Regions from separate parts of the Homo sapiens genome. Here all the other regions are linked to region 3. The links are contacts of gene promoters, found by promoter capture Hi-C in blood cells and fetal thymus (Javierre and others, 2016). All regions are on one chromosome and are shown on one strand. Each heading gives the region's core, a stretch centred on a gene start or on the middle of the fragment in contact. The rest is flanking DNA. Distances are from core to core; before and after follow the strand shown. Region 1 overlaps TMEM132D (transmembrane protein 132D). Region 2 overlaps TMEM132D (transmembrane protein 132D). Region 3 holds the start of TMEM132D (transmembrane protein 132D).

Region 1 (3,464 bases), core at 585-3,084, 730 kb after region 3:
AAGGACAGGCTGACTGTCTTGTCAGGGAGTAATGCACCTAGTAACTTTATTGAAGCCAGTGCTCATTTAGCATTCCCCAAATCCTAGGGCCCTTAAGAGTTATGCTAAATCTACTCTGCCTGTGCTCTGTAAATGGAACCACAAAGCCTGTATCGCAGCGTATCTGTTTGTAGCATGGTTTACTAAATATTTTAAGCCTACCTGTTGAGATCTACTTCTCAGAAGAAAAGATTTCTTTCAAAATATTCCTGCTTAATGACAATGCACCTCATCGCCCAAGAGTGCTGATGGAGATGTGCGAGATGAATCTTGTTTTCACACCTGCCAACACAACATCCACTCTGCAGCCTACAAAGCAAAAAGTAATTCTGACTTCCAAGTGTTACTACTTAAGAAATACATTTTGTAAAGCTATAGCTGCCAGAGACTGTGATTCCTCTGATGGGCCTGAGCAAAGTAAATTGCAAACCTTCTGGAAAGGATTCCCTATTCGCCATTAAGCACATGTGTGATTCATGGGAGGACCTCAGAATATCAACATGAACAAGGCTTTGGAAGAACTTAGTTGTTTCCAGCCCCACTAGATGACTTTGAGGGGTTTAAGATTTCAGTGCAGGAAGTCAGTGCAGGTGTGGGGGAAACAGCAAGAGAACTAGAAGTAGAAGTAGAGCCTGAAGATGGGGCTGAATGGCCACAATCTCATGACAAACCTTGAACAGAAGAAGAGTTGCTTTTTATGGATGAGCAAAGAAAGTGGTTTCTTGAGATGGAATCTACTCCTGGGGAAGATACTGTGAACGTCGTTGAAATGACAACAAAGGTCTTAGGATATTAGATAAGTTTAGTTCATTAAGTAGCAGCAGGATTTGAGAGGAATGATTCCAATTTTGAAAGAAGTTCTGCTGTGGGTAAAATGCTATCAAACAGCATCGCATGCTACAGAGAAGTCATTCATGAAAGGAAGAGTCGATCAATGCAGCAAACCTCATTGTTGTCTTATTTTCAGTCCTTGCCACAGCCGCCCCAAACTTCAGCATCCACCAGCCTGATCAGCCAGCAGCCATCAACCTCAAGGCAAGACCCTCCACCAGCAAAAAGATTATGACTTGTTAATGGCTTAGATTATCATTAGCATTTTTATCAATAACACTTTTTTTTTTTACTTGGAGTCTCGCTGGGTCGCTCAGGCTGGAGGGCAGTGGTGCAATCTCGGCTCCCAGGTTCAAGCAATTCTCCTGCCTCAGCCTCCCTAGTAGCTGGGACTACAGGTGTGCGCCACAACACTCAGCTTATTTTTGTATTTTTAGTAGAGACTGGGTTTTACTATGTTGGCCAGGCTAGTCTCAAACTCCTGACCTCAAGTGATCTGCCTGCCTCGGCCCACAAAAGTGCTGGATTACAGGTGTGAGCCATCATGCCTGGCCCTCAATAAGATATTTTTAAATTAAGGCATGAGTGTTATTTTCTAGACATAATGCAATTTCATGCTTAGTAGACTACAGTATAGTGTTAACATAACTTTTACATGCACTGGGAAACCAAAAAATTCCTGTAACTCTCTTTATTGAGATATAAGCTTTCTTGCAGTGGAGCCAAATCCACAATATCTCCAAGGTGTGCCTGTATCAACAAATATTTTCAGGGCTTATTTGCTTGCTCTCTGCACTGCAATTCATACCCCAACTCTGTTGGTGAATTACTTTCTGCTCCAAGGACCTTTGCTGCCAGCCTGAGATCTCATCATCTTTTATTTATTCACAGTTTGCATATGGTAAGAGCATGTGGGAACAGCTCCTCCTCTTTGCCTCACCCCTGACCTGGAAGGAGCAGCTCTAGATGAGAAAGGGAGTTGGAGACTTTACGATTATTCACAAAGAAGTCAGACTGCCTGGACCCAATTAAGCCCTGGCCGTGGTCCAGTGTGGCATCTGAAAAGTGTAGACATGATCAGAACCACAGCAAGCGTGAGGATTGCAGGTGCTAAATAGATCTTGTTGAAATAGAACATTTGTGTATTTGATGTAATGTGTTAGAAAATATAAGTAACATATCAAAACTGGGATTGCAAATATTTTGCTTAGAAGAAGCTTAAGGGTGTTTTTGTAAAAGAATAAAAGGTAGAATAGTGGAAGTGGTGTTTAGACACATGGCATTTTGAAAAAATAAAAATAAATGTGAAGATGTTATACACAGATGCTCAAAGCATGAGATGGCCCCTGCAGTACAATTCATTCATTCATTTAAGTGCTTCTTGAATCCCCTCTTATTGATGAAGTTCTGCTCAGCCCCTCGTCTTGATGATGGAAATATAGAGATAAACAAAAAAATCGATGAAGTAGCTTGTCCCATTGTATTTGCATGCTAAGAGGGGAATGTGTCATTTAAGATGCAATCAGATAGAAGATAACAGAACAACCAAGTAAAAGTGGTTAATAATAGGAGTTATCATCCATTCTGCATGACATCAAGCTCAGAGATTGCCAGTCCTAGATACAGCTATGTAGCAGTGCCATGCAGGGGGAGCCAGGCTGGCTTCCCAGGAATTCCTTTGACTCAGTCCTCACTGTCACATGATGGCTGCCATAGCTCCAGCCACAACATCCTCACACCATTCATGTCTCACAGTTGTGTTTTCTGCCTGGCCACAGCAGATAATTGTGTTTGAGACTCCCAGTCCACAGACAAGTAAAGGATGAGTGAATGCTCCAATGGTTCTTCTCAGAGCAGGACCCCCAGACCAGCTGCATCAGCATCACCTGATAACTTAATAGAAATGCAAGTTCTTAGGCCCCACCACAGACCTACAAAATCACAAACTCTAGGGCTGGGGGCTGGAGATCTGCATTTTAACAAGCTCTTTGGATGGTTTGGTTGTGGGTTGAAGTTTAAAGACGGCTTTACGAAAATGCTATTTGGGTAAAAAGCAGCCTGATTTCAGCAAAGGTATATTTGAAAGGTAGATTCTTAGAGTGATACAAAGTAGATATCAAGAGCTAGGGCTCTAGTCCCTCTATCGGCCGCTAGCTAACTGTGGGATTTCAGGAAGTCAGTCAGCCTTCCAGGGTTTTGTTTCTTTAAATGGTGATGGGAGTTGGGTAGAGTTTGAGAAGAGAGTTAGTTAGGTCAGCGGTTCTCAACCAAGGGTGATTCCCCACCCAGGGGACATTTGGCAATATCTGGATACCTTTTGGGTTCCCATCAAAATAAGATGAGATACCACCAGCATCTGGAAGGTAGAGGACAGAGATGACACTACACAGCCTATGACTCATAGGACAGCCCCACGAAACATAGAATTATCCAACCTTAAATGTCTGTAGAGCCCAGGTGGAACCCCCCTGGGGGAGGTGAACTTGAGGGTCCATCACAGCTCTGGGAACCACAATACAGGTGGACCTTGAGGACGTCATATTAGGTGAAGGAAGCTGGACGTGAAAGGCATGTCTTATATAACTCCATGTATA
Region 2 (3,423 bases), core at 162-2,661, 710 kb after region 3:
TCCTTCATTTCCCTTTTATGGTATTTCCAGTTAAATTGACTTTTTAACACACATACTTTGTGTTTAATAGGTTATTTTAGTAAAATTCGATTTTGGATGTGTTATTTGCAAAATGCTCTAAAGCATGATGGGCAAGATACTATGGGTCAAGGGATTTGTAATGGTGCCACCTGGTGGCAGCAGCCCAAATTGCAGGCATAGCACCTTCTGGGTTTCTAACCTGCCTGTAAGGGTTAACGTGCTGATTTGCCTCCATTTCTGCGATGGAGAATTATTTACTTTCAGTTCTGTGACCACAAAAAAAAAACATTGCTATGTGAAGAAGGAAAACATATTGGCAACAGCTGCATTAAAGCATGAGTTATATGCCATATGTCACCTTAAAACCTCTAACTAAACATGCAGGCAATTAAACACTGTATCACATACAGAGTGCATGTAATTGGCATAAAGCTGTTGTATCTTTTTTTTTTTTTTTTTTTTTGAGACAGAATCTCACTCTGTCACCCAGGCTGGAGTGCAGTGGCACGATCTCGGCTCACTGCAAGCTCCGCCTCCCGGGTTCACGCCATTCTCCTGCCTCAGCCTCCCTAGTAGCTGGGACTACAGGCACCTGCCACCGCGCTCGGCTAATTTTTTGTATTTTTAGTAGAAATGGGGTTTCACTGTGGTCTCGATCTCCTGACCTCGTGATCCGCCCGCCTCGGCCTCCCAAAGTGTTGGGATTACAGGCGTGAGCCACCGCGCCTGGCCTGTTATATAATTTTTGAAGCCCAACATTAGAATGGTAGTGTTGTATATAGTGATTTAGGATTTGAACCTCCTTTGGTGCTAAAACGAGGCGCCCAGCTACCACCAGGCACATCACAGTTAAAATGTATCTGAGTGTGCAACACACCCGCTGTAATTCAAACCCCCCATTTGTGCCACAAAATCTCACCAGTGGAGGCAGTGATAGATAATTAGTACCCAGCCAGCCCTGTCCTCTGATACAAGAGAATAAAGATTAATAAGAAGAGACACCAATGGCAAAAATATGTGAACAACCCTAAATTTGAGATTATATTTATCCAAAAGGGGTATTTTTCATGATTAGTCTTTCAGGGCCTTAAAGTTTCTCTTATAAGAATTTGCCACAGAATCTTGATTTCAATGTTAGAGTCAGTTACAGAAGCTTCTGCCATCTTTCCCCTCATGGGAAGGTCTTTGATCCAAGAAGAGAGGAAAAACAAGTATCACATAATGAGTGTGTGTGATCAAGATGAAAACCAAGCTCAAAGTTCTTCTAAGTAAAACTAGTGATGATACACTTCTTACTTTGGAGGTCATGGCTACAGTCAAGGAAGACAATCGGTGGATTCCAAATTCCAAATGAGAACTTCTATTTGGATTCTGATATTCTTGAGCAACATTTATCATGACAAGTCACCCAGGATGGAGGCCCCAGGGGTCTCTTCCAGACCTCCCCAGTGAGTGCAGACGCAGGTCAAGGTAGTAGGAACCATTCGAGGTCCAGCCAAGAGTAAGACTCAGGCCCTGGTGAAGACCAGAAGTGAACACTGTGCCTCCACTAGATGTGAATTTGTTTTCTACAGGGCCAGGTTCAGACTTTAGAGACCCAGGGTTCAGAAGATATGATGGAAGCTTTCGTACAGAATTCAAAATTAAAATGTTTGTAACTGATTTGAATGAAGAGTCTTTGGCATAAACATAAATAATTTAACAAGTGTTTATTGAGTTTCTGATACATGCAAGCCACTGATCAGAGTGCTGGAGATTAAGCAGTAACAAAAAAGTCCCTGCCCCTCATGAGTTTCCAACTGGAGGACAAAAACAGGAGATATTTCGTGTGTGTGTGTGTATGTGTGTGTGTGTGTTCTGTGTGTGTGTATGGTTCATTATATCCTGTGATACAGTTTCATATATATAGCTTCCTCTTTAGAGAAGAAAAATAGGAGATATAGAGATATATGTATAATCTCCTACTGAGATATATATAAATATACATATATATCTCCTATATCTTATATAATTAGTATCATATATGTAGTTTCCTTTACAGAGGAGAAAACTAGGATACACACATACATCCACATATATCTCATCTCCTATATAACCTATATATAGCTATATTTATGTATATTTTATTTTCATATATATCCTTTATAATAGTTTCATATATATAGTTTCCTCCATAGAAAGGAAAATGGGAGATATTTTCATATAGATCTCTCTATTCTGTATTCTATATGTGTAATTTCTTATACATAACCTATTTTAAATATACATGTATACATCCCATATCCTATGTAGAAGTGTGTGTGTGTGTGTGTGTGTGTGTGTGTGTGTCCTATTTCCCTTCTCTGTGTCTTTTCGGCAAGATATGTGTATGTATGCACACATATATGTATAGCATATGTTATAAACATATGTACCTCACTGAAAAGGTGGCTTTGAGTAGATTCCACATAGGCTAACTGAGCAAGTCATGTGATGGTCAGAAAGGAAGAAGAGTTCAGGCACTGTGGCAGGAAGTAAGGCCCACGTCCCTTGGAGAGGAAATAGCCAGGTCTGAGGAGTCAGAGATCAGCACCACTGGCAGTGACCCGGAGGGGGCGTCTGGAGCCGGGTCTGGAAGGAGGGGAAACAGCTTGCTGGAGACCACAGGCCACACCTGAGACTACACCTTTTGTGCGGAGGCAGCACCCGGAGCCTGTCCTGAGGTCTGAGGGGGTCTCACCGGCAGGACAGCAAGAGCTCTGGGCTGCTCCACTGAGAACAGAGAGCTAGGATATGGGCTCAGAATCTGTATTAGTTTCCCACCACTGCTGTAAAGGACTACAAATTTAGTGGCTTAAAACAACACAAATGTGTTATCTTACAGTTCTGTAGGTTAGAAACAAACCTGAGTTGCGCTGGGCTAAAATCAAGGTCTCAGCAGGGCTGCCTTGTTTTCTGGATGTTCTAGGGGAATATCTCTCCTTGACTTTCCAGCTGCCAGAGGCCCCCACATGTGCAGGCCCTAGACCCCTCCCTCCATCTACAGGCCCCAGACCCCCTCCCTCCATCTGCAGGCCCCCAAGACCCCTCCCTCCATCTGCAGGCCGAGACCCCTCCCTCCATCTGCAGGCCTGAGACCCCTCCCTCCATCTGCAGGCCTGAGACTCCCTCCCTCCATCTGCAGGCCTGAGACTCCCTCCCTCCATCTGCAGGCCGAGACCCCTCCCTCCATCTGCAGGCCTGAGACTCCCTCCCTCCATCTGCAGGCCTGAGACTCCCTCCCTCCATCTGCAGGCCCCCAAGACCCCTCCCTCCATCTGCAGGCCGAGACCCCTCCCTCCATCTGCAGGCCTGAGACCCCTCCCTCCATCTGCAGGCCTGAGACTCCCTCCCTCCATCTGCAGGCCTGAGACTCCCTCCCTC
Region 3 (3,855 bases), core at 516-3,015:
CAGGGGAAAAACTCAATTTGATTTAGAGAAACATAAAATGATTGTTTTTAATAAAGAACAGGGACCACTTGTTTCTAGTCAATATGTCTGAGAAATGTCTTACAAATAGACTCAGTGTCACAAATAGATGATTTACAAATAGACTCAGACCCACTGTAGCGTTAAGGATGGAACCTGGATTATGCATTCAGTGCGGGCATCAATTTTGACACTCAGAGACCAGGTGAAGGTGTCCAAGAGACGAAAGCTCAGCTCTCTCATCACTCAGGTGAAGGAGAAAGGGGACCAGTGGTTCCAGCACGTGTTCCGCAGGCCGGCAGCATCAGCATCACCTGGAACTTTTTAGGAACGGAGATCGGAAGTCCCACCTTGACCTGCCGAGATAGCTCTGGGGTGGGCCCAGCAACCCAGGTCTAACAAATTTTCCAGTGACTCTCCTGCTGGTTCAAACTTCAGAAACAGTGAAAGAGACAATCTCTTAGGGTCTTTGCAGCGTCGACTCTTAGGAATTTTACAGGAGAGCAATACAAAGAGAAAAGGCAACAAGTTTAAGAAACAAACAAAAGAAAAAACAGAAAGACAGATATATTCAGATAAGTAGATACAGAATAAAAGACAAGAGCACATCTCAAAGGACATGAACCCAGAAAAACAATCTTCGGTAGAACAGCAGTGGCTTTTTTGATCTTCCTTGAAACTTTGAAAGCTAAAAACTCTTAAAGCATTGGTATATTTCTGCAACTACAGGCATACAGGATAAAAAAGTCCATTGCCCCCTCAGTCAGATGATAACGACCCATTTTTATCTACTGAGGTGAATTCACCTCATTAGATTCAGGGCTTGTTGGTTTACAATATTCCTTAAAAATTCTGAATGCTTTTCTTCCCTCTGAGCTTTGATGGGGTTAATTTAAAGGCTCTCGTGGAGCAAAGCAGTTCTTGGGCTACAAATTACAGGACGGTGCTTAGGGATCTTGGTGTGGGAATGTCTTAGTTGGAGATTCCGGGCGGTGTTGAGAATCATGTCTTTTATCTTCTCAAAGCAATGTTGTCTCCTAATGGATCCATTTCCTTTCCCAGTGAGCCCTGGGGAGCACACGACATGTTTCTAGGGACACTAACTTGGGGGATCGCTCTGGGAAGGGGCTTGGGGCCAGCATGACCTCAGTGTGGCGTGTCAGAGACTTCCTCACTGCGATCCCTGGGAGATGCGCAGGGCGGGGCGAGGGCCCTTCTCCAGCCATCCTTGCGCTCTCCCTGGCGAAGAGCCTCAGGTGCCCCCGGGCTGGAGGACCTCCCCTGGGCCTGAGGTTTTGATGACGACGAGAGGCCGGTGGCCAGCTGGACACCTGTTGGGAGAGTGGGTGGCTCCGTCCCCGGGGTGCGCCCGCGCTGGGAGCCCTCGCCCGCCGCCACCGCGCGTCCGCGCTCGCAGGGAGGGTGGCCGGGAGGCTGGGCGTGGGGCGGCCAGGGGGAGGTGGGATTTACTTTGCGGATTGGGGCTCACAGCTGTCACTCCGAAAGGGTGGGGCTTTTTAAAAGCAGACAAATTTTTAAGGCGAAAGCCCCAGCCGGCTCCGGGCACCGTGGCGATCGCCTCCGTTCCGTTCCGGATGCGGTCCTTGCGGAGCGGAGCCCCCGCGCCTGCTGGCAGGAGGCAGCTGCGTTGCTCGGCCGCGTCCCCGAGCCGGCGGGCCCTCCTCCGCGCACATCTGGCCCGCCTCCCCCGGGCGCAGGGGGGAGCCCCGCGTCTCCGGAGCCTGCAGTGCGCTCGGCGCGCGTAGAGCCCCGCGAGCCCCAGCCGGGCCCGGGGCCGGGCGGGCCGAGGCGGCGGCCGGGGAGCAGCCGCACCCGCCAAACTTTGGGTGCCGGAGCGCGCGCGCGCCCGAGCCCCGAGGCGCAGCGGCCGGCCTGGGATGGGGGCTGCGGGCCAGGGAGCCCCGGGCCGCCCAGCGAGCCCGGCCACCCGCCCGGGGGGCTCCGAGCCGCCTCTGCCCGCGTCCCGGGCTCCGCAGCCCCGCCACCCCGGCGCCGCCTGCGCCAGCGCCCGCTAGCCAGCCCGGGAGCAGCTGGAGCCGCCGGAGCCCTGCGCCTGGAGGCGCCCCTCCTTGGGCCACCGGGGGCCACTCTTCGCTCGGGTAAACAGGAAAGGAAATACCCCCTGTGGATTAAAATTTAAAAAAAATTCTGTTGGGGTCGAAGGAGGGAGGTGGGGTTTGCCTGCGCGCGTGTTGGACTCCGGAGAGCAACTCAGGAGCCCGCGCGGTCGTCGCCTCCCGGCCTGGCCATGGACTGGCGGGAAGAGGGAGCAGGGCGCCCGGGCTGCTCGGGCCCCTAGCCGGGCGCTCCCTCGCCACCGGCCCCGCTGCGGGCCTCTAGGGGACTGAGACGGTCTCTTGTTCGCCTGGACGGCGCCGGGGAGCGGAGGATCTGCGCTCCGGGTCTCCAGGATGTGCCCGTCTGAGATGGGGACGCTGTGGCACCACTGGTCGCCGGTACTCATCAGCCTGGCCGCCCTGTTTTCCAAAGGTGAGGACGCCGCGGCCGCCAGGGCCCGGGGACTAACTTCGCCTGGAGTGAGTGTGTGGGAGTGTGTGGAGGATGGGGGCGGCCGGGAGAGAGGGCTCGTGTGCAAGTGTGTGTGCGCGCTTGTGTGCATGTGTGTGTGCGCGCGTGTGAACGTGCGCTCGTGCGGCAGCCAAGCTCCTCGGACGCCCCTTGGCCGAAGGTGCTTGTCCTGGAGCACTTGGGTGGGAGGCCTTAGGTGAGACTACTAAGGAGCCGAAAGGAAAGGAAGGCTGTTTCCTGAAAGCCTTTTCTGTAAAGGGAGAGGGCGTGGGGACCCTTGAGAGGAAAGGTGGCCTCTGGAGGGCCGAGCCGGCTGTCGGGGGAGGAGGGGATTGAGATGACCAGGGAGATTTCTGGAATTTGGGATTGACTTTCCCTGGTGGCACTGACCTATTTGGAAATAATTTTGGAGCACTCCTGTTGTATGGGAATACTATTTTGTGTATTATAGGCTGCCAAAAATATAGCCTGGGGGGCGGCTCTGAAGAAGGGGGATGGGTTTCTCCAGGTCTGCCGCTGTGAGGTTTGGGCACAGGGTCTGGCGCTCACCCTTCCGTAGGGTGCTGGGAGCAGCAGCGGCCCCGCAGGGTGCACGTGGAGTTTCAGCTACAAGTTGTGACCCGAATTTTCCCAGCGGAGCCCTGACTTGAAGCCATGTGTCAAGGCAGGAATTCCTCAATGTTTCCTCTTCTCTTCTGCCAGCATCCCTGTCTGTCATGGGAAGAGCAAGTTTGGAAGCTCTGGACAGTCATTCTTCCTTGAAGAGAAATGGTGTGATTTGTGCGGGAGATTCTTTCTCATGATTGACCTGGGCTGCTTGTGTGTGGTTCCCCCACCCGTGCCCCTTTCCTGCAGATAGATACACTGGGAGGAGAGTGAAGCGTCTCAGCAGTCTCTAATACGTGCTGCAAGAACCCTGTACCCATATTTTTCTGCAAAGATTTTTGAGATGAGATCTCTCTCAGAAACTTCAAAGCCAATTATCACGCACAAAGTCTTTTAATTACATGAATTGTCTGTTCTCTGAGTTCTTCCAGAATCACTGAGGTTATGTTGCTTTGGATCTGATAATAGATGAAGACAGTTGAAATGCCGAGTTCTGTGATGGTTCGATTTAGAAAGAGGAATTTACGTTCCCCCTCCTTCCCTGTCTTTGAAGTGTGGTTGAAATGGGCTCACGTTTCCTAATTATGAGTTAGAACAATCCCTGGGATCAGAGCCTTCTGGATTTATAATGTGCACAGGAAACCAAAGAAAAGGTTGATGAATTCAGTGAACCTGACTCAG

What was found. The method cuts DNA at HindIII sites, captures the fragments that hold promoters and counts their contacts. A CHiCAGO score of 5 or more calls a contact.
Region 1: a fragment that was not itself captured here is called in contact with the fragment with the promoter of TMEM132D in region 3 in 1 of 17 cell types (M2 macrophages); the score reaches 5.4 in M2 macrophages.
Region 2: a contact is called between a fragment that was not itself captured here and the fragment with the promoter of TMEM132D in region 3, in 1 of 17 cell types (M2 macrophages). The highest score is 5.8, in M2 macrophages.

Annotation. Positions count from the first base shown.
Region 1 is chr12:129,168,504-129,171,967 of GRCh38, reverse strand. All of the region lies in intron 5 of TMEM132D (transmembrane protein 132D), which reads left to right. Among named protein-coding and RNA genes, the nearest start is that of TMEM132D-AS2, 38 kb to the left of the region's middle. The HindIII fragment of the contact is 511 bases long and covers 1,579-2,089 here.
Region 2 is chr12:129,190,219-129,193,641 of GRCh38, reverse strand. The region is part of intron 5 of TMEM132D (transmembrane protein 132D); the gene reads left to right. Among named protein-coding and RNA genes, the nearest start is that of TMEM132D-AS2, 17 kb to the left of the region's middle. The HindIII fragment of the contact is 470 bases long and covers 1,177-1,646 here.
Region 3 is chr12:129,901,935-129,905,789 of GRCh38, reverse strand. It overlaps TMEM132D (transmembrane protein 132D), which reads left to right and starts at 1,765. Exons shown (of 9, transcript NM_133448.3): 1 at 1,765-2,529. The coding sequence starts at 2,451. The HindIII fragment of the contact is 8,442 bases long and covers 1-3,855 here.